Linked DNA regions of Homo sapiens: regions 1, 3, 4 and 5 are each linked to region 2. Evidence: promoter capture Hi-C in 16 types of primary human blood cells and fetal thymus (Javierre and others, 2016). All regions are on one chromosome and are shown on one strand. Each heading gives the region's core, a stretch centred on a gene start or on the middle of the fragment in contact. The rest is flanking DNA. Distances are from core to core; before and after follow the strand shown.

Region 1 (5,689 bases), core at 116-2,615, 750 kb after region 2:
GCAGCATGTGAGGCATGTTTTATTTCTGTTTTTCCTGTCTAGGGAAACCAAGAATACCAACTCACTTTGCCTTGTCTGTGATGAGAACTGAAAAACCTACAGAGTAATGAATTCTTACAGTTGCATTAGAAATTCAGTAGCCAGGGTGGATTTTTCACGGAGCCTTAAAGGAGCTTCCTGGGGATGTGATCAGCATCCTTTGACAGCAGGGCCAACCAGTTTCTTGGCTTTAGGACTGTGTGTTTTGAGCAGCCATTAGCTGGGGTGATCCTGATCTGGTGATTTATAAAGCCATGTGCAAGACTGAAGCACGTCAGTGTATTGTAAACTTTTTATTTTCAGTATTTTTCCTAATTTCGGCAAGTAGTGCTTTGTGGAATACTGTTTGAGACCAGCGCATTAGGCTAGACCATGACAGGTCCAGGTTACCAAAGAGAACAGTAAACACACAAATGTGTGAATCCATGAGTATTAGATACAGAATGATCTGTAAGGTTTCCAGGGTGTGGAGATATTGGTTGGGAAAGAGAGTATTAGTCCAAATCTGAGAAGTCAAATACAAAGGCCAAGAATTTAAATGGTTTATCAAGTTGAAGGATAAAGCAAGGTTTGGTATCAGATGGTTAGGCATAAGGTTACGGGTGTATATCAGAAGAGGAGTTCTCAATTCCAAGAATGTGGTCCATCCATTGCTGTCTGGTCTTAAATACTCTGCTGAGCTAGCAACCTGGTCTTAAAGGGATCGAATAATGTCAGACAGGTCTGTGTTCCTTTTCTTCCTTCCCCGTTCACTTTTATTGAGTAGCTACAGTAAGGGAAATGGTAGGAAACAAGGGAGCAGAAAGGGAAATACCCCAAATATGGGGAAACATCTTTTTTTCTGGGTCAATGAAATATGTGTGTGTATATATATATGTGTGTGTGTATGTGTATATATATATATATATGTGTGTGTATATATATTCAGAAAATATATATGTATATTCAGAAAAGTGAAATATAGCTAAAATGGATTATATCTTTAAGTAGTTTTGTTTTTTAATAGAATATTTTAAATTTAGTTTTTATCTATAAATTTGTTTTTATCTATAAATTTGACTTTGCAATATGGTATTAGCATCTTGGTTTGAGTTTAAAAGGAACAGCTTATTTAATTATTAGTGAAGTTTTATCAAAATTATATTTGTCAGAGTTTATCATCTACCCATGTTTCACAGGCTTGACACAACTCTCATAGACTTTACTGACATGAAGTGCCAACGAGGGGATCTAAGCTTCATTTTCAATGGGGATGCGGCGCCCTCTGAATCTTTTGTAGTATTAGACAATGAACAAAAAGTTTATCAGCGAATACATCATGAGGTGAGCATGTTGTCTTATCAATATTCCTTTAAATCATTAAAAAAAAAGTATAGGTTTTTAGCAAAACCTCAGTATAATTTGCTTAAAAGCTTAAGGTATAATTGAGATGGTTTGTTCCTAAAGCTATAGTTTCCTGACCACTAGCTTTCTTTTCTTTTTTCTTTTTCTTTTTTTTGAGACTGGAGTCTCGCTCTGTCACCCAGGCTGAAATGCAGTGGCGTGATCTAGGCTCACTGCAACCTCCGCCTCCCAGGTTCAAGCAATTCTTCAGCCTCAGCCTTCAGGGTAGCTGAGACTACAGGCGCCCGCCACCAAGCCCGGCTAATTTTTGTATTTTTAGTAGAGGCTTGGTTTCACCATGTTGGCTAGGTTGGTCTCAAACTCCTGACCTCAAATGATGCACCCACCTCGGCCTCCCAAAGAGCTGGGATTACAGGCGTGAGCCACTGCGCCTGGCCTATTTTCATTTTTTATATTTCTATCCTCTGGTCTCCATCTTGACCGGTCCATTGAGCCTGCTGAGAATTCAACTGATTATCTCCTAGATCAATGAACTCCAACTTCTCTTCATTCTCATTTATAGTTTTCATTTGTTGAACCTGTGCTGGACCTTTACCATGTATTATCTTTTTATCTTACCTTCTTTTAATGTTGTTGACCATCTTTATTTTATCTCCTTAATATGAATACTTCTTTTGGCTCTGTCTGCAGTCTTACTTTTCCTAACTCTTTGGCTACCTTTCCTTTCTCTGTCCTTTCCCTCTTCAAGTACGACATGATTTTCCTTCTCTCATGCCATATCTTTGTGTTAAAAAACCATTGATATGCCCTTGATGTGGTTCTCATTTTTACAAACTGCCAGAATAATCCCTTCCATTCCCACAGTCCTATAGGTTGATGATTTACAAATATATGTTTGTGTCCATACAGTTCTGAGTAGAGGCTTATCTGTTTAAATGCCTAATGGATATCATGTGTGTCTCCCAGGTACCTCAAAATTCACCTTATTTAAAACTAACCTTGCTACTTTTCCTCCAAACCTGCTCTTTTTCCTGTTTTTCCTCTTTTGAAGAATGATGTCATTCTCTATTCAGTTAGAAACCTAGGAGTTATTTTTGATATCTTTTCTTGTACTCTGTGTTTTCTCATCAGAGCACATATCTGGTCATTTCTTTCTCCTTAATGTCTCATTATTATTCCTCTTTTATTCACACTGTCACTACTGTAATTTAAACATTCATTATTTCTCAACTGGACCATTGGAAAGTCTTATAAATGATCTTCCTGGCTCCCTTCTCATCTGCTTCTAAATTATCCCACATGTTGGAGATACATTAAACTTTAGAAACACATTTATGAAACCTTAGTTACTTAGAGATACTTAAAAAGTTCCCCATTACCTAAAGAGTGAAATCTAATCTCCTTAGCACGGCATGGTTCCTTTTGTCACCTGAGTTTTGCTCACCTTTCTAGCCTTTTTCTTACCTTACTATTTTAGATACCCTCATACTGCACTCTTGGCAGTTTGTCAGATGTGCCAGGCTATTTGGGCCTTTATTCCTTTGTTCATGTTCTTTCCACTTCCTGGAATGCTTTTCTTTTTGCACCCTCACACCTGTAGGGCATGCACTTGGTGTTACTTTCTCTCCCACCAAATGACTTTTGTTGTCCTTATGTTCCTATTAAATCTGGAACCATAAAGCTTCTAATGTTACATTTACTGACATGGCTTTTTTCCCTTCTATTGGTCTAAGCTCCTCAAGGGCGTGGGGTTCTTTTTGTTGTATTCCCTGTTATCTAATACAGCATCAGTACATTCTACGCTATAGGTTGGTAAACTCTTTCTGTGAAGGAAGAGATAATAAATATTTTTAGATATTAAAATATATTTGTGGGCCATATGGCCTCTGTCACAACTACTCAACTCTGCTGTTGTTAAAAGCAGCCACAGACAATATGTAAATAAATGAGTATATTCCATTATCATTTTATTCATAAAAACAGGCAGCTGATTATAGTTTGCTTACTCATATGTGAGCCTCTCAGATATTTATTAAATAATTTGACCTCTTACTTATGAAATGACAACAGGATAGCCAACTAGGCAATAAGTGAATTGGAAATAGGGTCTTGAAAGAGAAGCTAGAAGTTAAGGCTAGTAGTCCATAAGTATTTGTGGATGTCATAGTATTACCAAAGAACTGGTATTAAGGGTACCAGTTTTAAGGTATTAAGGTATGTATGTACTAGTATTAAGGTATGTATGTATACATACATATATGTATTATGTATTTTATAATGCCTACAATACAGGAAAGATAAATTTTGAGCAGTATTCCTTAGGGCAGAGAATACTTGTTGTTTATCCTAATATGTATGTATGTATAAGTAATAACTTCATTAAATGTTGAAGCAATGTAATTAATTAAAACAGCAGATCTTTTTCAGTGATGTGGTTAAGAGATAGTCTCTGATTTATATAAGAATTCTGTTCCAAAAGTTTATTGAAAATAGGATGTTTGAAATGTAAGGCAAATTTGCTCATAGACAATGGGTTATACAGTGTTCAGTTTCCAAGCTAATATATAAAATTCTACTTGATTCATAATATATTTGAAGTATAGTGTTTAACAGTTCTGTTTAACTACTGCAACCTAACTTTTTTTTAAAGAATATTGTGTTCAGAATTAATTTGGGTTACCAGGAATACATTTTCACCTATTATGGCTTTAGCAGTAACACCAAGATTTTGCATTCTTTACTTGTAGGGGTAGAGGAAATGGTACTGTCCCAGGCCCAAGCCATTGCTATTTTTTTGTTTGTTTGTTCTTTGTTTTTTTTTTTTTTTGAGATGGAGTCTCTCTCTGTCTCCAGGCTGGAGTGCAGTGGCGTGATTGATCTCAGCTCACCGCAACCTCCACCTCCCGGGTTCAAGTGATTCTCCTGCCTTAGCCTCCCGAGTAGCTGGGACTACAGGCGCGTGCCACCATGCCCGGCTAATTTTTTTTTTTTAGTAGAGACGGGGTTTCACCATGTTAGCCAGAATGGTTTCTGTCTTCTGACCTCGTGATCCACCTGCCTTGGCCTCCCAAAGTGCTGGGATTACAGGCATGAGCCACCTAGCCCGGTCGCCAATGGTATTGTTTTTGGAAATTCAGGAAGGGACTATATGGGCTGGGCACGGTGGCTCATGCCTGTAATCCCAGCGCTTTGGGAGGCCGAGGCGGGCGGATCACGAGGTCAGGAGATCGAGACCATCCTGGCTAACATGGTGAAACCCCGTCTCTACTAAAAATAAAAAAATTAGCCGGGCATGGGGGCGGGTGCCTGTAGTCCCAGCTACTCAGGAGGCTGAGGCAGGAGAATGGTGTGAACCCGGGAGGAGGAGCTTGCAGTGAGCTGAGATTGTGCCACTGCACTCCAGCCTGGGCGACAAAGCGGGACTCTGTCTCAAAAAAAAAAAAAAAAAAAAAAAATCAGAAAGGGACTCTATGTAGGTTAAAGTTAGATGGTGAAGAATAGAAAATGGGCCTCTTGGGAACCTAGAAATAAGGAGGTTTGGAGAATGAAGGCTCTAACTATTGTAAACCCTAGGGACTGTTATTATTCTCCAGACAACTCCCTAGGTTTTGCCTTTTTTCTTCCTTATAACGTCTTAAATATTAGTTAGGGTATCTTTCTTGGCCTATTATGGAATAGAATCTCATCTTATACCTGCTCACTTACTCTTCTGTACTTGATCATTTAGTCTTCTGTCCCTGAAGCAAGCACAAAACTTTCCTTTTTTCTCATATAAAAAATAATTATTGCTCAATTATTATATACCAGCACTAGGGAATATGTACAGGATAAAACCTGAAGCATGACTACTCATTAAGTTTAGAAATTACGGTTGATATTTATGGATTCCTTTCCATTTTATAAGGAATACAGAAAAGATCCTTTCTTGCTTCTTTTCCTTCCTTCCCTCTCTGCTGCTTCCCTTCTTCTATCCCTCCCTTCAGTTCTTCCTTTCTTCCACTTACAATTTATTGGGAAAGAAAGGCTCAAATGACAGTGGTGGATCTTTGCATTAAGAAGAACTAAAGTAAGATTAATCTGTATTGAAAGAAAAATATCCTTTATCTGGGTTTTTTTCTCAGATCTGTCAAGTTAATTCTTAAAGTTGTTTTTAAAAATTGCTCTATGGACTATACAGTTTTATAATGGGTAATCTAGTACTGCTTCCATTACATATCTATAACAGGATAATAGTACCGTATTTCATGTGTCCTGCTTTTATAGATTCATAATTAGTCATAATGCTAACTTAGAGAAGATATTAATA
Region 2 (5,232 bases), core at 733-3,232:
CCTTTTTGTTGGGTGGTGGGGAGGGGAGCGGGCAGGATTAGGCGAGGGGTAGTAGTTGGGATTTCTTGGTCTTGGAATTCAACCATCCGATGTATTTGTTTCCCTGTGTCTATTCCCTTAAGTCTACAGGCACTGTCTAGTAATTTTATAGTTTTCAGCGGCACCCCAGGGGACAGGACACCTTGGCCTTTTTATAATCACTCTAGAGTCACAAAGCAGAAAGGAAAAAAGTTAACGATCAGCTATGCAAAGGCTTGTGTGGATTGCTTAAGGACAGGCGATTTTCACTTTACCAGAGTTACTAAAGGACTTCAGGAGAAGGATCCCGTCCCTGTAGGAGCGTTTGTGGTTGAAGAAGCAGGAGGACGAGCGCTCAGGTGCGCCTCGGCAGTTTGCCTGGGGTCCGCAAGTCCAGTGCTACTTATTAGCTGCTTGCCGTCCACCGACACTTTAGCGGAGAACTGGAGGAGACCCCAGTGGGCTCCCGGTCCGGCCAGGAGCAGGGCGTTTCAGAGGAGACCGTCTGGGGCTTCCCAACCCAGGCGATCAGGATAGGCAACAGCCAAGAGAGGCGCTCAGTTGCTTTGCACCCTCCTCCCACCTCGGTTCTGTCCACACCCACGGGCGCCCCGCCCCCTCGGCCTTATAAAGGGGACTCGGCACCTCCGCGCGCCTCGCCACCAGAGGTTTCCCAGAGAGGAAGGCGTGGCTCCCTCCCGGGCCAGTGAGCCCTGGCGCCGCCGCGGCCGCGGTCCCAGCAGCGGAGTAGGGCGGCGGCTGCGCCCCGCACCATGGGGGGCAGCCCAGCCCCAGCCGCGGTAAACGCCGACCTCCGCCGCCGCCCGCGCCGCGTCTGCCCCCTCCCGCTGCGGCTCTCTGGACGCCATCCCCTCCTCACCTCGAAGCCAACATGAAGGAGACCCGGGGCTACGGAGGGGATGCCCCCTTCTGCACCCGCCTCAACCACTCCTACACAGGCATGTGGGCGCCCGAGCGTTCCGCCGAGGCGCGGGGCAACCTCACGCGCCCTCCAGGGTCTGGCGAGGATTGCGGATCGGTGTCCGTGGCCTTCCCGATCACCATGCTGCTCACTGGTTTCGTGGGCAACGCACTGGCCATGCTGCTCGTGTCGCGCAGCTACCGGCGCCGGGAGAGCAAGCGCAAGAAGTCCTTCCTGCTGTGCATCGGCTGGCTGGCGCTCACCGACCTGGTCGGGCAGCTTCTCACCACCCCGGTCGTCATCGTCGTGTACCTGTCCAAGCAGCGTTGGGAGCACATCGACCCGTCGGGGCGGCTCTGCACCTTTTTCGGGCTGACCATGACTGTTTTCGGGCTCTCCTCGTTGTTCATCGCCAGCGCCATGGCCGTCGAGCGGGCGCTGGCCATCAGGGCGCCGCACTGGTATGCGAGCCACATGAAGACGCGTGCCACCCGCGCTGTGCTGCTCGGCGTGTGGCTGGCCGTGCTCGCCTTCGCCCTGCTGCCGGTGCTGGGCGTGGGCCAGTACACCGTCCAGTGGCCCGGGACGTGGTGCTTCATCAGCACCGGGCGAGGGGGCAACGGGACTAGCTCTTCGCATAACTGGGGCAACCTTTTCTTCGCCTCTGCCTTTGCCTTCCTGGGGCTCTTGGCGCTGACAGTCACCTTTTCCTGCAACCTGGCCACCATTAAGGCCCTGGTGTCCCGCTGCCGGGCCAAGGCCACGGCATCTCAGTCCAGTGCCCAGTGGGGCCGCATCACGACCGAGACGGCCATTCAGCTTATGGGGATCATGTGCGTGCTGTCGGTCTGCTGGTCTCCGCTCCTGGTAGGTAGTTCCAGGGTTGGGGGAAGTCAGGATGCGTGTGCGAGTAAGCGGGAACCTAAGACTTTGCTAAGTGGCAGCACCCGCAGGGGTGTGTTTGCAACCGCAGAGCGCTGAAGTGTCCTTTCCTCCTGCCCGCGCGGTCTTGGTTACAGCTTCAGAGCTGAGCTCCTCACTTACTAGCTGAGCGCCTTCCAAGAGCCAGGATTCGCATTAGGCACTGTTTATGAGCACATAGAGATCACAGGGCTGCTCACATTCTAGTCGGGTAGGAGACAGGATGTGTCATTGAAATGACATATATGCAGAGCTAGAAGTTTGTCCTGAGTGCATTAAAAGCAGAATTGCTATGATAACTGTAGCCTGATATTGTGGGGTTTTTTTTTTTTTTTTTTTTTGAGACGGAGTCTCGCTCTGTCACCCAGGCTGGAGTACAGTGGCGCAGCCTCGGCTCACTGCAAGCTCCGCCTCCCGGGTTCACGCCATTCTCCTGCCTCAGCCTCTCCGAGTAGCTGGGACTACAGGCGCCCGCCACCACGCCCGGCTAATTTTTTTTTTTTATTTTTAGTAGAGACGGGGTTTCACCGTGGTCTCGATCTCCTGACCTCGTGATCCACCCGCCTCGGCCTCCCAAAGTGCTGGGATTACAAGCGTGAGCCACCGCGCCCGGCCGGGTTTTTTTTTTTTAATTTCAAATTCCTCTTTCACGTTAATAAGATTTTCAGTCTGCAACCCCATACAGTCACAGCCCTCCTGCAGCTTCTGAAAGACTGCGCGACCTATGGGTGCCTTCAAGGTTCATTCTTGATGAGGCAGGAGAATGAAAGATACGAGTTGCCTCCTCAGCCTTTCGCCATGGTGCTTGACCCTCTAGGAAGTGCCCGAACGACAGTCAGTGGGATCCGGAAGCTCAGCAGCTTCTTCAGGCCAGCATTTACTTACCCTTGTAGCACTCAAGCAGGGTTCGCTAATCCTGAGATAGGAGGTAGAGGTTTCTCCATGTCCTAGCTCCTCACACCAGAGCAATGCAGAGGAGCAAGGGATGTTTGCAGAGGCTCTTTGCCTAACACCTGCCCTTACGTGATATTTTTGAGGTTTTTTTGTCTGTGTTACTTTTAGCTAGAAATGTCCGTGTGTAAGTGCTGTTTACTAATTCCTGAAGAATGGATGCTTACTTAGGCCCTGGGGTGTCTGGGTTAATAGATGTTGCAGAAAGAGCGATATGGTCACTGTTACAAAGGTATAACCAACTATATGTATTATACAGTTGTGGAAAACCTTTGAAACACGTGAACGCAGTTTTTTTTCTTTCCTAATTATGGTAAAATATATTACATACAATTCAGTATTTTAACCATTATTATGTGTACAGTTCAGTGGCATTAGGCATTAAGTACGTTGAGTTTTTTGTGCGCCATGTATACTTTTAAATCCCTTGCATTTGAAAATAGAAATGTAATTTCTTTAACCTGGTTTGGTAGATTGGAGCACAAACCTTGGCTCCAAATCAGTGACATGAGGGGACAAGGAGTGTTATGCTGAGACCTAACTGCCCACAAGTCGCTGTATGGTCACAGTTCTTTATTCCAGGAGTTGGAACTCAGGCTGATGTCATCACTATGGCTTATCAAAACCAGCACCAGTTTTAGATATACAGTATTTACTTTTATGGCTGAGGAATGGAGTGTACAGGTGGCCAACTAGGAAGGAAGAAAGAGTTCTAAATAGTAAACACTTTACTAAAGTGTGGTAATTAATATAACTTTAAAGGCAAACAGGGTATCAGTTTTTCACAAGTGTCATTTGAGTCCCACATCTTTGAGTTTGCTGTATCACATGATTTATATCCTAGGGAAAAAAAATGCAGTTAAATCAATTGAACAAAATACCCATACAGTTAATCAGACTTATAATTTATTGTTTGTGCATTTTGTTTTTAAGTCAAAGCGAAGCCATGTAGTGTGTTTTTGATTTAGACACTTTAATTCTAGTACCAAAAGTATGGTGGCCTCAGAAAGAAAGTAGATCAATCTTGAAAACTGTAATTTAGGATGGCCAAACTCACTCTTTCAAGAAAGACTGCATTTGAAACTAGTCTTACTTAATTTCAATTTATTTTCATTTGGATAATACTTATTGATTTATAGCATTTTACTGGGTACTTTATTAATTCAATTATAAAAACATTAAACAAAATAAATTAAACATGTGATCATATCAAAAAGGAGAATTTTTTTTTTTTTTGAGACTCTGTCTCAAAAAAAAAAACTCCAGGCTGGAGTGCAGTGGTGAGATCTCAGCTCTCTGCAGCCTCCACCTCCCAGGTGCAAGTGATTCTACTGCCTCAGCCTTTGGAGTCACTAGGATTACAGGCGCCCGCCACCACACCTGGCTAATTTTTGTATTTTTAGTAGAGATGGGGTTTCACCATGTTGGCCAGGCTGGTCTCGAACTCCTGACCTGAGGTGATCCGCCCACCTCGGCCACCCAAAGTGCTGGGATTACAGGCATGAGCCACCGTGCCCGGCCTAGGAGAAATGAGAACTTTTTAAAGAAAATGGTTCCATCGGCTGGGCGCAGTGGCTCACGCCTGTAATCCCAGCACTTTGGGAGGCCGAGGTGAGTGGATCATTTGAGGTCAGCAGTTCGAGACCAGCATTCCAACATGGCCAAACCCCGCCTCTACTAAAAATACAAAAATTAGCGGGGCATGGTGGCATGCGCCTGTAATCTCAGTTACTCGGGAGGCTGATGCAGGAGAATTACTTAGGCTAGGGAGACAGAGGTTGCTGTGAGCCGAGATCACGCCACTGCACTCCAGCACGGGTGACAGAGCAGGACTCCCTCTAAAAAAAAAACAAAAAACAAAAAAAAAACTCCAAATATCTTCAAAAAGATTTACTGTACAAAGTTGGAATTACTACAAAGAAAAGAAACTGGCAAAGCTGCTTTCTTAATAGAGAATTATAAGAATAAAAACACTAGAATTTAGTGAATTGAATTTTCAGCATATTAGTGTTAAAATGAGAGATTAACGCTGTTTTTTCTAACTATGAGTGTAATATAGGTTTCCTGCTAGCATTCGTTAAGTTGGGTGTAGGATACTATTCTAATTGTCCAAACTTCTTACTTGAAAGGACCCTGAGTATATCCTGGAAGACTATCATGACTATAATAAATATTCAGTTGTTACTGCAGGAAAACTTGGTAGTACAGAAACACCATAATAAGAAAATGTCCCAACAGCTACAAGTTCACACTACATAAATACTTAAATAGAGGTTTATGTATCCTTAAACAAAAGCTTTGTTTCCTTTTTCTTTTTCTCAGAAATTTTGCAAAATACAATATAAAATGTGAAATTAAGAGAGTACAGTGGGAAATTATGTCACCATGATAGATGACCTACAGTTTTTAGTTACTGCTTA
Region 3 (5,751 bases), core at 1,389-3,888, 700 kb after region 2:
TTATACCCCTTACCTGGGTGTGGGGGTGATTTGGTGGTGAAATGTTACTCCATTGATCAGGGTTGATTTAGTTGATCTTCATTATTAGATGAATGTCATCTTCCTTCTTTCTTGTCTTTCTTCCCCATGTGCATCTCCAACAGAGTAGGACTGTCCTTGGGTTAAGTGGCTGTGTTTCCTGATGGTGTCACCATTAGTACTATAGAACTTCACCCACTGCTTACAAATGTTGTGATAAGAACACATCTGCAGAGCTATGTCTTAAAAGGGAGGGAGGATCCTCTTCTCCCCTTTTCTGCACTGGGCTGCAATAGGAATAGAAATTCTTAGCTTTGGCAAAAAAGGTAGCAGAAATGGGTGATTATTGGTGATGTTGGGTCCTGGGCATCCTGAATTCTAGAGGACTCATTGGAGAATTGAGTTTTCGGTAGGATAGCTGCCCCAAGTTAATGCCATTCTTAAGTCATAGAAATCTACTTTAATTCAAGAGTACAGTGTAATTATCAGAATGCTTGGGTTCCAGAAAATGAGTGCAGTTCCTAGAGAATTGGATGGGGGCCAGGCAGACAAACAATATGGTTCTGTTCCTACACCATTTATTTTCTTGAGGGAGAGCTGGGTGATCAGTTTTAGAGCAACACTGAAGTATGTAAAATAGGGATAGGAAAAAGGGAAAAGGTCTTTCGCCTTTTCTGTATTGATCAGATCTGAGTTTGAGACCATGCTTCTCTATGAACTGCCTTTTTTTTTTTTTTTTTTTTTTTTTTGAGACGGAGCCTCGCTCTGTCACCAAGGCTGGAGTGCAGTGGCGCGATCTCGGCTCACTGCAAGCTCCGCCTCCCCGGTTCACACCATTCTCCTGCCTCAGCCTCCCGAGTAGCTGGGACTACAGGCGCCCGCCACCACGCCCGGCTAGTTTTTTGTATTTTTTAGTAGAGACGGGGTTTCACCATGTTAGCCAGGATGGTCTCGATCTCCTGACCTCGTGATCCACCCGCCTGGACCTCCCAAAATGCTGGGATTACAGGCGTGAGCCACCGCGCCCGCCCGACACAATTTGATTTTAAAAGGCTCACTCGGGCTGTTGTGTGAGGCAAGGGTCAGTATAAAAAGCTACTATAGTTGGGGGAAACTGTGAGGGTGATAAGAAGATAGAGCTGATAGAAGTTGATGCTGGATTTGATGTCAGATGATATGGTGTGTGTATTTTAGTAGTATATTAGCATTTTTGAGAGAGAATGCAGAAATTATCCCCTTTTACTGCTTGCTTGGATCAGACTTGAAGGAGTCTGTAGAACCTGGAGCTCTGTACTAGTACTTGCAATTTCCTGCTTTGTTCTATAGTTAGGGGGTGCACAAAGTCGCAACTATTTTTATAATATCTAGTCATTGCTTGCCTTTTTCACTGCAGACATTTTCATTGGTGGTTCAAAAGCACTGGTGAGTAAAATTGTTGACATCTTAGTGCAAGTCAAAGTAGCAAACTGGGCTGGTAGTCATTGTATTGTTCACTGCCATGCAAATTAATTTTTAATTTTTAAAAATTAAAACAAGGCCATTTTACTTAATGTTTTTGATGAAACTGTAAAAATTATGAATTTTATTACATCCTAATCTTGAGTACATGCTTTTTTGGTATTTGTGACATAATTGGGATTGTGCCTTTTGCTCCTCTGCTGCATACTGACTGGGTAAATAAGGGAAAGCATTGTTAAACTGAGTGGGGAAGCCAGGCACAGTGGCTCACACCTGTAATCCCAGCACTTTGGGAGGACGAGATGGGAGGATCACTTGAGGTCAGGAGTTCGAGACCACCCTGGTCAACATAGTGAGACCCTGTCTCTATTAAAAAGAAAGAAAAGAAAAATAGAAAAAAAAAGTATTAGAAAAAAGTTTGAGGGGTATTTGAGTGTAAGCTGAGCTAGCCACCTTTTTCATGGAACACCATTTTTACTTTAAAGAACAGTTTACAGACAAACTATAGTTAATCACAGTTTGAATATATGGCAAATATTTTTTGGAAAATAATGAAGTAAACCTATGACTTCAAGGAAAACAAGTGACAGTTATTTGTTGTGAATGAAAAAATTGAAGCTTTCAAATGAAAAGTAGAAATTTGAAGAACTTATCTCTACCATGGTAAGCTTGATGGGTTCCCAGTACATAAAAGACTGTTCTAGTCAGATTGGAGGTGATATTGCCAAATACGGTTTTTTTGCTATTGTACAGTGAAATATGTCAACATTTGAAGATTTCCATAACCTGGTCAACCGGTGTTTTTCAAATATCAATGCATGGTGTTACAGAATCATGCATCAGTACAAGATCCATTCAAAGCACAAGACAGACCAATATATTTCAGTGTAATACAGTACAAAAAACTTATTTATATGATTTTAGATTTCACATTGCAATCTTTTTTTTTTTTTGAGACGGAATATTGCTCTTCTTGCTCAGGCTGGAGTGCAATGGTGCGATTTCGGCTCACCGCAACCTCTGCCTCCTGGGTTCAAGCGATTCTCCTGCTTCAGCCTCCCGAGTAGCTGGGATTTCAGGCATGTACCACCACGCCCGGCTAATTTTGTATTTTTAGTAGAGACGGGGTTTCTCCATATTGGTCAGGCTGGTCTCAAACTCCCTACCTCAGGTGATCTGCTTGCCTCGTCCTCCCAAAGTATTGGGATTACAGGAGTGAGCCACCGCGCCCAGCTGTGCAACCAACTTTTAAGAAGTGAATTTTGGTGTGTAGCAAAGAAAAATATCAGAAAAGGTTATTAAAATACTCCCACTCTTATCAACTGTGAATTTGTGCAAAGCATATATAAAAACCTAGCTGCTGTCTTCTGTTAAGCCAGACATTAAAGAAACATAATTTATTTTTATTTTTAATTAAATAATTTAAATAGACTGCTCATGTCACTTATTTGTTTTGGAAAATGTAGTTAATTTTTTCATAAGAAATTTTATATTAACACGTAGTGAGTATTATAGTTCTAAAATTAATACATTTAAAATTTTAAAAATCTTAATTTCTAATATGATAAATATCAATAGATATATCTATACAAAAGGTTTTGTGATCCTTAATAATTTTTAGAAGTATAAAAGGAGTCCTGAGATTCAAAAGCTTGAAAACTGTTAATACAGTAAAAAGAATATAAATTTTTGTGTCATGAACTGTCCCAGTTTCTAGGTATGTAATTTTGGAAAATAACTATTATTAGGTCTATTTTTCTTCTTGAGAAATAGGAATAATATTTGTTTCATAGGATTATTGAGCAAATTAAATGAATAAGGTATCAGAAATATACAGCATAGTGCCCAACACATTTAATAGATACCCATTAAATGCCAGCCATTCTATTGATTATTTGCATTTATTCATTTTTTTTTTTGAGATAGGGTCTCGCTTTGTCATCCTGGCTGGAGTGCAATAGTGTGACCACGACTCTGCAGCCTTGACCTCCGACACTCAGGCAATCCTCCCACCTCACCCTCCTGAGTAGATGGGACCACAGGCATACCACACTACCATGCCCAGCTAATTTTTTTTTTTTTTTTTTGAGATGGAATCTTGCTCTGTTGCCCAGGCTGAGTGCAGTGGCATGATCTCGGCTCACTGCAACCTCCACCTCCCGGTTTAAGCAATTCTCGTGTCTCAGCCTCCTGAATAGCTGGGACTACAGGCGCCTGCCACCACACCTGGCTGATTTTTGTATTTTTAGTAGAGATGGGGTTTCACCTTGTTTGTCAGGCTGGTCTTGAACTCCTGACCTCAGGTGATCTATCCGCCTCGGCCTCTGAAAGTGCTGGAATTATAGGCGTGAGCCACCATGCCCAGCCCCCAGCTAATTTTTAAAAATTATTGTTTGTAGAGACAAGATCTCCCCATGTTGCATGGACTGGTGTTGAATTCCTTGGGCTCAAGCAATCCTCCCGCCTCAGTGTTCCAAACTGCTGGGAATACAGGCTGCAGCCACTGTACCGGCCAGTGTTTTTTGCATATTTTAAAACTAAAGTTAGCCTGGTGCGGTGGCTCATGCCTGTAATCCCAGCACTTTGGGAGGCTGAGGTGGGCGGATCACTTGAGGCTAGGAATTTGAGACCTGCCTGGCCAACATAGTTTTGCTAAACTCCATCCCTACTAAAAATACAAAAATTAGTCGGGCATGGTGGTGCACGCCTATAATCCCAGCTAGTCAGGAGGCTGAGGCACAGGAGGTAGAGGCTGCAGTGAGCCGAGATGGCATCACTGCACTCCACCCTGGGCAATAGAGAGACTTTGTCACAAACAAACAAACCTACCTAAAAGCTAAAGTGGTCTTAATATTACTGGATGTTTTTCACTTGTTCGACAAAACAATTCGATTTAGTTTACCAAGTTAGAATGAAGGTGTTCAATTTCAGATTTAAAAAGTACATTATGAAAAGTTGATAGCAAAGTTTATTTTATGTTTTTATTATCCTTTGTGTAATAAATTAGCTTAAGCAGCAGGTTGAGGACATAGAAAACTGAGGAGATAGTAGATGGAAGTAACTAGGATGTTGGAGCACTTAGTTTTATGATATAGTTGGTGAATACAGTAAATTCACTGTTAGCCAGGTGATCGTGATGATGATTTTGCCATTTAAAATATTGAATTAGCAGAGCATAATATTTGGCATCATAGTAGAAGGTATTTCTGTTTATATTCTTATCTTTAAAAAGAGGGATTGAATTGTTGAACTGACTTCTAGTTCATAAATCTTGTGATAATATGATTAAAATTTGGACTTGTAATGGAAGGTTTCATTTGTAACTTCAGTAGGTACTGATGCTTTTACCCCCTCTTTTCTCTATGTTCTTGAGGGGTTAAGAAAACAAAGGATAATTATCCAGGAGCACGGCCACCTTGACTTCTTCACCTAGGTTATCTGTCTAGACTCTGGTGGACTCTCCTTAACTTAAATTTAAAAATTTGTTGAATAGATATAACATTCACATGCTTTAGAATTCTTAAAAATAAAAGGATACATTGTTAAAAGTTTCCCTTTCACCCATCTCTACCTATCTAGTTCCCCTCCTGGGCAGCAGCAAGTGTTATTTTGTGTGTGTGTGTGTGTGTGTGTGTGTGTGTGTTATTGTGTGTGTGTGTTTCTTTCTTTACCATTTGGAGCATGGTACTTCTTTTTCTCCCTGAAAGATAGAGAAGTGAAGAAAGGGAACTATTGCTACCTCTTCCACTATTGCTACCTCTTCCACTATTGATACAAAAAGGGATATTCAGGAATTTATACATTTGATTGTAAACGTCTCTTCTTTTTTTTATTCCCCCCTCCACCGAGTTGGAGTCTCGCTCTGTCACCCAGGCTGGAGTGCAATGGGCGATCTCAGCTCACTGCAACTTCTGCCTCCCGGGTTCAAGCGATTCTCCTGCCTCAGCCTCCTGAGTAGCTGGGATTATAGGCATGCGCCACCATGCCCGGCTAATTTTTGTATTTTTAGTAGAAATGGGGTTTCAACATGTTGGTCAGGCTGATCTCGAACTCCTGACCTCATGATCTGCCCACTTCTGCCTCCTAAAGTGCTGGGATTACATGCATGAGCCACTGCTCCAGGCCTGTCTCTTCTTTTTTACTGCCAAATGTATATCTCCAGCCTATACTTCTCCTTTGAGGTCTAGATTTTGTATTTGTCTTCACTTGGAATCTCAGAGTTATTTTAAAATTAACTTGTCCAAAATGGAGTTATCATTTTCTGCCTCCTCCCCT
Region 4 (5,931 bases), core at 356-2,855, 550 kb after region 2:
GAGTTTCCCACACACGTCCTTTCCTGTAGCCTGTAACAAACAGCCTGAGAAACATCATCTGTCTTGAACTCGTTCTGATATTTTTCTCTTGGGAAACAGCTCTGCCATGTTATGTGCCACTCCAATCACTCCTGTAATTAAAAAAACACACACACACACATTTTTCTCCATCTTATTTCACATATAATTCAAGTCTCATGAGTTAATTTATCAATTTAATTCAACAGGAAATATCGAACTCACAATTTTCACATGTGGCATTAAATCTCAAAGTAACTTTAGAGTTAACATGTCTATTCAGTAAGCTAAAACAATATTGTGTCATATATTATGCTATTACCTTAAGTTTTAAAAATGAGTAAAAACACATGAAGGGGAAATTATAGTATTTATTATACCACGTAGGCTGTGCTAGACACATTGATTTCTTTGCCCAAAGTATCCTGCTTTCATAAGAAATGATCTCTCATCCACATGGTTACTACAGGAGCAGCCATTATCAGAGCTGCCTCATATTATCTTACAAAAGTTGATTGTTAGCACCTCTTCCAACTCCACATTCAGTGATATCATACTGGTCTCTTGAAATCAGCCATCGTGAGAATATTTACACCTCAAATTAGCAAATTGGTGCACCTCCTCTCTCCTCACCCCAAGAGCCAACTGTTACACATTGTCACCACATCACTGCATTAACATGCTATGACTGTCCCTTAGGTTATAATTACTTACACAGAGATAGACGCCGGACTCCTGCTGAACCAAGCAGACCTTTTCATGTAATTTGTGAAACTGGAGCTGAGAATAAAAGCCAATTTCTCTCCAGTGGCAGACACAGTAATAAGTAAATTTTAGGAGATGTTGGAGAGGAAAAGGGGGATTTTTTTTTTGTCTTTAGATCAGAGAACTAGAAACAAAAAGAGAACAAAATAAATATACAGAGGTGAGCAGAGATGAGAGATGATGATATAACTTTGGGATATTTAAGTCCCTTCTATTTATTCCAGAGTAGCACCTGCATTTCTATCCATGGGTCCCACTAGACACTTCATTTTCATTAGGACAAATTCCTCTGTGCTAATCAAATTTAATTACAATTTCAGAACTGTTATCTGAAAGATTCCTAACTAATATTTGAGTCCTCAAATATATACTACTTTAATCTGAACATCTCTCAAAGCCTTTCATATAGTGGTAGCTGAAAAAGTTTTCTCTTTGCTTTGGCAGCAGTGGTGGCTATCGAATGGGAATTTGATTGCAGTGTTGTTTCTGTGAATCAGATGGAACTAATCCTACCTCTGCAATTTGATCTCTTATCATCTTTTTACAAAATAACACATTAATTTTCTCTTACTTAAAAATGTTCTTTTATCAAAAGTATTTTTAATTTTCTAAAATGTAAATAATGTCTTTTCTATGCTTGAAGTGTTACTCTTTCGTATCATAAACACACCATCTGGATTACTAAAAGGAGGGATAGTTTTTATAGCCCTTTTGCTCAGCTCAAAACTGCTGTTTACATAAAGTCATACTTACCCAAAGCCAAGACTATAGGGTACAGTTGTGCAGGTTGTGCCCTGTACAAAGGCATCTAGCCCTTGGTGTGAGTAAAGGCCAGCCATGGGGAAAGGTGCTCAAGGTCTCCAACTGTGGCAGGGGCCTAGCCACCTGCCTGATACTACCCAAGAGTGAAATTGCTCTCCTATGAATTCTTGTGACTCATTTACCATCCTTTATAGCACGTTCATTTTGCTAACTTTCTTATCTCCTTTATTACATAAAAAAATATTTTGAGGTGGGAAACTGCATTATACTATCCTTTCAAGTGCCCCAAATGAAAACATTTGATTTGGCCAATGAACACCTGACAAATGAGATAATGTGTTTATAAGTGAGACTTTACATGCCAAAGTAGCACAAATCTTAAAGTTTCTTATTTTATTTAATGTGTAAACTTCACTTTCACTACAACTGAAGAGCTCTATATTACAGCAATATCTATGAGCCAAAACTCTGAGCTAAATAGGCCATAAAAATGGTATAAGGAAATATCCAGCTTACAAAAGAGTAACACAGACACAACTTAACCCCAAACTGAGACCAAAATATAATTATTTATTTATTGAAACATGAAGTAATTTGCCTCTTGCATATATAAGTGAGCCAGATAAGGGAAATGAGCATTCTAATCAAACAGCAATGCAAGATTAGAGCAAATCAAAAGAGAGCAATCATTTGTGAATGGAGGTAAATTAATTCCATTAAGTATGCCACAGAAATCTAGCATTAAAAAATTCAAAAATTCTAGCTTTGTGAACTTGAAAGATATTTAGAATCATTGTTCTAAGTGTCATGAAGCAGAAGCAGGCTCCAATTCATGGCCTACATTAAAACCAGGATGTGTTGATTTAACTCCAAAGATTAGACTACTGGGAGCCATATAATCAATAACCTCCAGGGATCATATTTCAATATCTCTGCCAATTTAATTATCGTACTCAGGTGCCAGCTTTCTTGTTTTATATATATATAAATTTCTGTGACACAGCCCTCGGGAGATCCTGAGAACATGTGCTCCTATATTCCACAGTTTAGAGCCAAGAATTAGCTTGAATGCAGGTGCACAGAGTTAAATTACCTAGTTTGTATCATTAGAGTAGTTGAGAATCAAAGTCCCTAAAGTTATACCATATCAATTTCATTAAACAGTTGACTCTTCAACAACACAGATTTGGACTGTGTATGTCCACTTATACTGAGATTTTTCAACCAAACTTAGATTGAAAATCCAGTATTAAAGAAATGCAAAAGCTACCTATATGGAGGGCCAACTGTTTGTATATACTCAGGTTCTGCAGGACCCACTGTGGGGCTTGAGTATGCAAGGATTTTGGTATGGATGGGGGCCTGGAACAAATCCCCTGCATATATCAAGGGACAACTGTACTTAAAAGCAAATAAACATAAAAAACAAATAATTTTCCAAGTACAAATAAAAATTTTCCTGCAGGGGTCACAGCTGGGCCCTAAACTCAATTCCTTGATATGTGCCAGTCTGACACAAGAAGTAATCAATGGCTCATGGAGTCTGGTCCTACTTATCAAAGAAGTGGGTGAAGTTTCTCTATTATTCCTTCCTTCTTTCTACAGTCTTCTCTCACTGCTCACCCCTTTTTAGAGATCCTTCTTTTTCTAAATGCCTGGATTTTGATGCCCAGGACATGGAGCAAATCAATACATAAATGAATTCACATTAAGAGGGTAATGACTAGCTCTTTTTACCAAAGTTGCTAGTCTTGCGTCAGCTTGGCTCCTATAGAAGGAGCTCCCAGCTCTCTGAAGGCACCTGTACGTAGTCTGGAGTCTCTGGAGGTATCTTACATCTAACTCATCTGTAAGTGGCTGGTTCTGCCCTGCTCCAGTGGAGTCTCAGCAGTGTGAGAATTGTCAGGTACAGAATTAGAGGCAAACTGAGTGAGAGGAGATTCCCAGGACCCAGAAACACCCATCTCAGCATGAATAACACTTGGTAGTTTTTCTCTCTGTAACATTTGTCATCTTATAGGCTCAATTCCCGTGAACTAATTTTGTTTGAAACCCTACCCCTAACCTTCCTGCCTCTACCCCTACTCCCATAAAAGCAAAGTGTCTGTCCTTGCAATATACTAAGAATACCTTTTTTTTTTTTTTTTTTGAGACTTAGTCTCACACTGTCGCCCAGGCTGGAGTGCAGTGGCACAATCTCGACTCACTGCAGCCTGCGCCTCCCGGGTTCAAGCAATTCTCCTGCCTCAGCCTCGCGAGTAGCTGGGACTACAGATGCATGCTGCCACACCTGGCTAATTTTTGTATTTTGTGGTAGAGACAGGGTTTCACCATGTTGGGCAGAATGGTCTTGATATCCTGACCTCGTGATCCACCCTTCTCGGCCTCCCAAAGTGCTGGGATTACAGGCGTGAGCCACCGCACCCAGCCTAAGAATACATATTTTAGAAACCTCTTTCCTCCTAGGAAACTATGATCCTCAAGGAAAAGAACCAAGTCTTATTTTTTTCTTAATGCCCCATTTTCTGACATAGTACCTTAGATAATTATGTGCATAATAAATGTTTTCTGGCTGGGCACAGTGGCTCATGCCTATAATCTCAGCATTGGGAGAGGTCAAGGCAGGAGGACCACTTGAGCCCAGGAGTTTGGGACCGGTCTGGTCAACAAAACAAGACTCTGTCTCTACTAAAAAATAATAATAATAATAATAATGTTTTCTGAAATTTTGAAATCTCAGAAGTATTTGCATGTTGAGAGGGCAATACTTAATGTCTTTTTCACCCTTAATGCTTAATTATTAATCAAGATTTAGTTCAAATAGTCTCCTTTCTATGAAACTTTCTCTGGCTCCCTACAATACTTTATTCACACCTTCATTATGGCAATGCAATCTTTCTTACAAGTTGTTAGACATCTTTTTGCCTGACTAGGCACTGGGCTTCTTAGGAAAGAGAACTGTATGTACTTTATTACAATACAAAGAGCTCCCCAACTCTTACGTTGCCGGATTATAAAAGGCATTCAGTAAATATTTATAAAAGAAAAAGTGGAATACAAGGGAAGAGGGAGAGACAGTGGGAGGAAAAAGAAAGGAGAAGGGAGAAAGAAGGGGTGGGGAAGTGAAGGAGGAAGGAATTAAGAGGTTGTAATATTGGTTCTTTCAGGTAGCATTTGACATGGGAGGTGTTTAGGAAAAGGCAGCTTTTTCAAGGCTTTAGAAATCAAGTCATATTGCTAACTACTTATTATGTATAAAAATAACTTCAGTCTGGAAGTTGATTGCTCATTTAACTTAATAGAAAAATATATGTATTTCAAATGCGGAATTCTCACGATAAGCATTTTGAAATAAAATCTCTATCCAGTTAACTAAAATGAGATCACTTTTTAACAACACACAAACACACACAACTTGAGCAGACGAAGGCAAATGGATTAAATGTTTGGCAGAATTAAGTTGGTGTGCCTGCCTTATACCAAGGTACCAAAAAATATTTGTTAATTTAATATGAGAAACTTTTTGATAAAGCTTATGTGTAGTAATAACTGAAAATTGTGCTAGTGACATGCCATGGTAAAATGTAGCATTTCTATTTCATTTATAGGTTAGAAAATAATTTTCTCCCTTTTGCAGTTCTCACATCTCAAATTTTAAATTGACAATTTACGCTACTATTTGTTAAATGGTGTCACATGAACCAATCTCTTTTTCTATTTTTGTGAGAATGTCATTGGTACTTTGATAGGGATTGTCTTGAATCTGTAGATCGCTTTGGATAGTAAAGACATTCTAACAATATTAATTCTTCCAATCCATGAACATGGAGTATCTTTCCATTTTTTGGTATCCTCAATGTTTTTCATTACTGTTGTATGCTTTCTCTTTTATGGAGATCCTGCACTTCTTTGGTTAATTGATTCATAGGGATTTTTAATAGCTATTGTAAATAGGATTGCTTTCTTGATTTTTTAATATTGATTCCTGTTAGCCTACAAAAATCCTACTGATTTTTGTACATTTCTTTGTATTCTGCAACTTTACTTAATTGGTTTGTCAATTCTAAGAGTTTTTTGGTAGAGTATTTTGTTTTTTCTAAATATAAGATTATGTCATCTGCAAATAAGGATAATTTGACTTCTTTCTTTCCAATTCGAATGCCCTTTATTTCTTTCTCTTGCCTGATTGCTCTGGCTAGGACTTTCAGTACTATGTTGAAAAAAAGGGGTGAAAGTGGGCATCCTTGTCTTATTCCAGATCTTAGTGAAAAGGCTTTAAATTTTCCCCATTCAGTGTAGTAGATGTGGGTTTTTAATAGATGGCCTTTAACTTGTTGAGGTATGTTCCTTCTATACCCAATTTGTTGAGAGTTTTTATCATGAAGG
Region 5 (6,072 bases), core at 1,635-4,134, 760 kb after region 2:
AAGTTAATTTGTCTGAGTTACGAAGATAGAGAAGCAGAGATGGACTTTTATGTTAGGAACCTGACTGCAAGCCTGTTCTTGCTGTAAGTTCTTTGCTTCTTAGTCTGTCTTTGTTATAGTTTCTTCTTTCTGTATATTCAGGTATTAACACGTCTTAGCAATTCTTTCAAAATACTGGGAAGTTGAAGTCAGGAAAGAGTGGGGAAAACCTTAAGAAATAATCCTGGGAATATGTTATTGGTAAATGTAGTAAAAACTAGTAGAGCACATAATAGTAAAAAATATATTTTTGATTTTGGAGAATTATTAAAGTTTCAAAAATCTAGAAAATATATATGATTTCTTATTTTTTTCAAAATACATTAAAATTATATATTTTAAAGCCATGTTTTAATAGAATTTCCATTCTTAAAAATAAATGTCTATTCCTTTTTGGAATGAATTTATATGCTTTATTATAAATAAATAGCTTTTGGGTTTCTTCTTGTCCCCCATCCCCAGCCAAAATTTTATTTCAATTTCTGCAAGAAATGGCTTATAGGTAGTATTCAGAAGGAATTATTTGCCATTTGATTACTTTTACTGTGCCTCTTCTGCTTTTTTTTCTCTTCCTTCCCAGATGTGGTTCTAGTATTTAGTATATATTTTTGACAGAATTTTTGATAGCAAAATTTAAGTGCTCAGAAATTCTTAAATCATGGGTACTTGTTCTTGTATTTTTAGCTCCTTGTTGTAACCAGTTATCATTGGAGTAGGGAACAATGCTCCGTTTATACCTTAGAGTCATTGATAAAAGCACTTATACTGTGCCAACTATATGTTCAGAATATTGAGTTAAGCCCTATTCATGATTATGGATTTTTTTTTTCTTTTTTGAGATGGAGTCTCGCTCTTGCTCTGTTGCCCAGGCTGGAGTGCAATGGCGTGATCTCAGCTCACTGCAACCTCCGTCTCCCGGCTCCAAGCAATTCTCCTGCCTCAGCCTCCTGAGTAGCTGGGATTACGGGCACCACACCCGGCTAATTTTTGTATTTTTAGTAGAGACGGGGTTTCATCATGTTGGTCAGGCTGGTCTCGAACTCCTGACCTCAGGATCCACCCGCCTCGACCTCCTAAAGTGCTGGGATTACAGGTGTGAGCCACCGCACCCGGCATGGATTTTTTTTTCTTTATTTAAAAATCTAAAGAGGAATACATAATAAAATACATGAATATCTTAAACTTTCAGAAAGCTTTGCCATATAAAATATTAGAATAATAACAAACCTAGAAATAAAGTATTTCCTATATGCTTCAAGGAAAATAGTCATCAGAAGTTTTACATTTAATTATGAGGGAAAGGCTTGAAGGCATTTCAATTACAGAGCCAATTGATTTGGCAAAATAACTTAAAGAGTTATCTGGTATTGCACCAACCTTTATGTCTTCCTGTTTCATTAGATAGCCATGGCATCAGTATAGAGGAGGCACTGAAGGATTCAGCAAGAAGTGTCAGTATATAATAAAGGACTTTGAATCTATTTGGGATTCCTTGAAAAAAATAAAGGACTAATTTAAACTTAAACTAGAAAGACATTTTTAGAATATGATAATTGATATTTATAATGATGAGATAAAGTGCTCAATAAAAGGTTAAATTACATTGATTACAGTCTTTACTAAGATGGGGAATGTATAATGTACTGTTTAGAAAGAATTTATTTGGAAATGGTAGAAACTTACTTGGAAAAGTTATTACCTGAAAAAATATAATGATGTGACATGCCATGTTATCTAATCATATGACAAATGTGTCTTTACCATGAAAATGTTATATATAATATTTAAAATATTAATAGATAGAGATTTCAGTGGGTATGGGATTAGTCTTTGCTGTGGTTCTAGGTTGGAGCAGCAATCTTAAACGTTTCCAGCGGTTTCCCCTAAAATTAAAGGTTCTATTAAACGCATGTCTCTCTGCTTTCTAGCATATCACTAGATACTATTTTACCTAATGTTTTGCCACAGCATTTGTGAGGGTCATTAACTAGCTTTTAAGCCTCTTCGTCATTCTACTGATAAGCCATTGCTACATGTCATAGTATTATGTATAATCTCCCACTGTAAATTTGGAATTTGGTATTGGTTATGATGTAAGTTTGGCTGCTTATAAGAAATCTCAAAAGAACAGTGACTTAAACAAGATAAAAGATTATTTTTCTCTCATGTAAAAATCTGAGTTTGTGTGGTTTTTCTCTGCTCTGTGGGTTAATCCCAGACAACTTTTTTTCTTTTGTCTTCTCTGCCATTCCTAGGATGTGGCCTTGCATCCACATGGTATAAGATGATTTATATTGCCGGGCGCGGTGTCTCATGTCTGTAATCCCAGCACTTTGGGAGGCTGAGGCGGGCAAATCACGAGGTCAGGAGATCGAGACCAGCCTGGCTAACATGGTGAAACCCCGTCCCTACTAAAAAATACAAAAAATTAGCCGGGCGTGGTGGTGGACACCTGTAGTCCCAGCTAGTCAGGAGGCTGAGGCAGGAGAATGGCATGAACCTGGGAGGCAGAGCTTGCAGTGAGCCGAGATCGCGCTACTACACTCCAGCCTGGGTGACAGAGCGAGACTCCATCTCAAAAAAAAAAAAAAAAAAGATGATATGTACCAGTTTCATATTCCAGCCAGCAGGAATAGTAATTCTTTTTTTTGAGATGGAGTCTCCCTCTGTTGCCCATACTGGAGTGCAGTGGCATGACCTCAGCTCACTGCAACCTCTGCCTCCTGGGTTCAAGCGATTCTCCTGCCTCAGCCTCTTGAGTAGTTAGTAGAGACGGGGTTTCACCATGTTGGCCAGGCTGGTGTCGAACTCCTGACCTCAGGTGATCTGCCCGCCTTGGCCTCCCAAAGTGCTAATTAGAAAGGAGAAGGCATTCCTATTCTGTTTGAGAGCCCATTCTGAAGTTGTACACATCACTCTGCTCACATTCCATTGGTTAGAATTTAACCCGGGCATGGTGACTCATGCCTGTAATCCCAGCACTTTGGGAGGCCAAGGTGGGAGGATTGCTTGAGCTCAGGAGTTCAAGACCAGCCTGGGCAACATAGTGAGACTCTGTCTCTACAAAAAAAAAGTAAAAACAAGCTGAACATGGTGGCATGCATCTGTAGTCCCAGCTCCTCAGGAGGCTGGGGTGGGAGGATCACTTGAGTCCAGGAGGTCATGGCTGCAGTTTGGTGTGATTGAGTTACTGCACTCCAGTGTAGGTGACAGAGCAAGACCCTGTCTCAAAAAAAAAAAAAAAAAAAAAAAAGAATTTAGTCACATGATAACACCTAGCTGCAAGGATTTCTAGAAAAGGAGTCTATTCTAGGAAGTCATGTGCTCATCCAAAAATTTGGAAGAGAGGTTCTTTCACAAAGACTAATGGGAGAACAGATACTGGGGAGACAACTAGCAATCTCTGACATCTCATCAGTGAGTACATAAACACTGGTAACTGTCAACCAGATATATACCTTTAACTCTATTCTTCCGTCATATCACCACATCTATAGTGCTTTTGCCTACCTCTACTTGGATAAACATAGATGTCTAAAATTTAGTGTGTCTAAATCAGATAATGCTTTCTTCCCTCCTTCCTCTTTTCTCTGTCTTAGGTAGTAACACCATTATCTCCTTATTTACCCCAGCTGGCAACCTGAAATTTCTTCTTAGACTTCTTAGCTTTCCTGTTATCTCTATATCTGATCAATCACAAAATCCTAAGGATCTCTTGAGTCTATTTAGTCTATTTTCTGTCCTTCCATTTTTAAACAACATGCCCTTATCATTTCTCATTTGGATTACTGAGATAGCTTCCTAAATACACTGCCACCAGAGTAATCACCCTGAAATAGATTGAATCATGTAATGGCTATGCTCAGTAACTAAAATGTATACAGTACTTGCTATGCGTGAGGCACTATTTTAAGCACTTTACATTTAACAGCCCATTTTTATCATCACAGTAAACCCTCTGAGGTTATATAGTTGACAGAACTGAGGCAAAAGAGGTTGAGTAATTTGTTTGAAGTCAGCTAGTCATTGTCGAAGCCAGAATTGGATCACTCTGGCTCCACAGTTGGTGTTTTAGCTACTATATTGTATTGCTCAAAATATTTGTCCATTGCTTCCTGAGTAAAATGTGATCTACTTCATATGTAAAACCCTTTCAGGCTACTTTTTCTCTTCTGTGTCTGGCCACTTTTCTCTTACTACTAATCTTCATGTATACTACTCATACAACTAGACACACTACACTTGCAATTTCCCAGTATGTCATGCTTTCTCTCACCATTCTGCTTTCCCCAGTTCCTTCAACCAGTTCTTTTGTTCTTTTTTAGACTCCTCAATTCAGGAGTCAACCAGTCCACGTCTTTTGGCTACCCTAGTCTGTCATAAACCTCTTCTGTGCATGTTTATATCATTCTGTAGCCCCTGTCACCCTCAATTATATCATAGCCCCTGTCACCCTCAATTATAAGTATTTACTTTTTGTGTCTCTTGATAAGCTTCTCAAGGAAAGAACATTGTCTTTCATCTTGCCTGATACTAAAAAACTCTGTTTCCTTTCTTTCCACATCCCTCGGCTGCTACTCAGAGATCATCAATGACTTCTAACCAACAAAATTTATGGCTTTTTCAGGCTTCTTTCTCTTCAAAGTCTCTGTAGTGTGATATTGAAACAGTCTTTTCTTTTGGCCTCCATTATACCATAAGGGAAACTAAACTTTACCTCTTCCAAACTTAGTTCTTAGTTGAGATGGACTCTCGTACCAAAAGACAGATTTATAAGGGAAAAGCAAACAAGTTTATTAATGCGTGCCGCACACCACACAAGAAACCCCAAGGAAAAGTAACTCAAGGGCTGATCACAGTGGCTTATGCCTGTAATCCCAGCACTTTGGGAGGCTGAGTTGGGCAGATCACTTGAGGCCAGGAGTTTGAGACCAGCCCAGCCAACATGGTGAAACCCCATCTCTATTAAAAATACAAAAATTAGCTGGGCTTGATGATGCACACCTGTAATCCCAACTCAGGAGGCTGAGGCAGAAATATTGCTTGAACCTGGGAGGCGGAGGTTGCAGTGAACCGAGATTGTGCCACTGCACTCCAGCCTGGGTAACAGAGCAAGACTATGTCTCAAAAAAAAAAAAAAAAAAAAAAAGTAGCTCAAAATAGTGGCTTAGAACTCTACTTATATAGCATCTTCAACAAAGAACAATAAATTTATAGAGAAATGACAGGACAAATGAAAGTGATTTTAGGTTTCCAAGGACAGGAAAGGAGTAAGGTTTGTTTGCAAATTCCTCTGGTGCTGTCACTGGGCTAGTAAGAGTATAGAGTTATCTCCAGTGAAGCAAAATTTATACTCTGTAGTTCGGCAGAAAACGGAGGGTAGAGAAAAAGCTTTTCCTCCATTTACTGCTTCCCTCTCTCTCTCTCTTTTTTAATTTCTTTTGAGACAGAGTCATGTTCTGTCCTGTAGGCCGGAGTGCAGTGGCATGATCTCGGCTCACTGCAGCCTCCATGTCCTGGGCTCAAGGAATCCTCCCACCTTGGCCCTTCAAGTAGCTGGGACCACAGATGTGTGCCACCATGCCTGGCTACTTTTTTTTTTTGTATTTTTTGTAGAGATGGGGTTTTGCCATGCTGCCCAGGCTAGTCTCAAACTCCTGAGCTCAAGGGATCAACCTGCCTTGGCCTCCCAAAGTGCCAGGATTATAGGCATGAGGCACCACACCTGACCTGCACTAAGTTTTTTATATACGTTATCTCCATTAATTTTTAACTATGAGTTAGTGGCCCAATTCCCATTTTGCAAGTGAGTTAAGTTGACATAATAGAAAGTAACTTGCCCAAATTCACACAACTACCAGGTATTGGAGCTGGGATTCTAACTCAATTTTGTGTCTTAGCAATCCTTGATTTTAACAACTCTAATATATGGCTCATTAACATCTTACACTAATTATATGTAAAACCACATTTCTTGAATGAGACCCTCTCAATGTTATTAACATCTTATTATTCATATTAGTCTTTCACTTA

What was found. The method cuts DNA at HindIII sites, captures the fragments that hold promoters and counts their contacts. A CHiCAGO score of 5 or more calls a contact.
Region 1: a fragment that was not itself captured here is called in contact with the fragment with the promoter of ZRANB2-AS1 in region 2 in 1 of 17 cell types (total CD8 T cells); the score reaches 5.8 in total CD8 T cells.
Region 3: a contact is called between a fragment that was not itself captured here and the fragment with the promoter of ZRANB2-AS1 in region 2, in 1 of 17 cell types (total CD4 T cells). The highest score is 5.3, in total CD4 T cells.
Region 4: a fragment that was not itself captured here is called in contact with the fragment with the promoter of ZRANB2-AS1 in region 2 in 2 of 17 cell types (megakaryocytes and erythroblasts); the score reaches 8.3 in megakaryocytes.
Region 5: a fragment that was not itself captured here is called in contact with the fragment with the promoter of ZRANB2-AS1 in region 2 in 1 of 17 cell types (total CD8 T cells); the score reaches 7.2 in total CD8 T cells.

Annotation. Positions count from the first base shown.
Region 1 is chr1:70,296,437-70,302,125 of GRCh38, reverse strand. ANKRD13C (ankyrin repeat domain 13C) reads left to right here. Exons shown (of 13, transcript NM_030816.5): 7 at 1,218-1,362. Among named protein-coding and RNA genes, the nearest start is that of ANKRD13C, 55 kb to the left of the region's middle. The HindIII fragment of the contact is 177 bases long and covers 1,277-1,453 here.
Region 2 is chr1:71,043,256-71,048,487 of GRCh38, reverse strand. It overlaps ZRANB2-AS1 (ZRANB2 antisense RNA 1), which reads right to left and starts at 1,982. Exons shown (of 3, transcript NR_038420.1): 1 at 899-1,982. PTGER3 (prostaglandin E receptor 3) reads left to right here and starts at 672. Exons shown (of 4, transcript NM_198719.2): 1 at 672-1,807. The coding sequence starts at 911. RefSeq lists an enhancer at 675-1,258. The HindIII fragment of the contact is 6,286 bases long and covers 1-5,110 here.
Region 3 is chr1:70,342,108-70,347,858 of GRCh38, reverse strand. The region is part of intron 1 of ANKRD13C (ankyrin repeat domain 13C); the gene reads left to right. Among named protein-coding and RNA genes, the nearest start is that of ANKRD13C, 9.7 kb to the left of the region's middle. The HindIII fragment of the contact is 983 bases long and covers 2,147-3,129 here.
Region 4 is chr1:70,492,070-70,498,000 of GRCh38, reverse strand. No RefSeq gene overlaps it. Among named protein-coding and RNA genes, the nearest start is that of CTH, 84 kb to the right of the region's middle. The HindIII fragment of the contact is 6,948 bases long and covers 1-5,079 here.
Region 5 is chr1:70,278,617-70,284,688 of GRCh38, reverse strand. The region is part of intron 9 of ANKRD13C (ankyrin repeat domain 13C); the gene reads left to right. Among named protein-coding and RNA genes, the nearest start is that of SRSF11, 60 kb to the right of the region's middle. The HindIII fragment of the contact is 3,300 bases long and covers 1,235-4,534 here.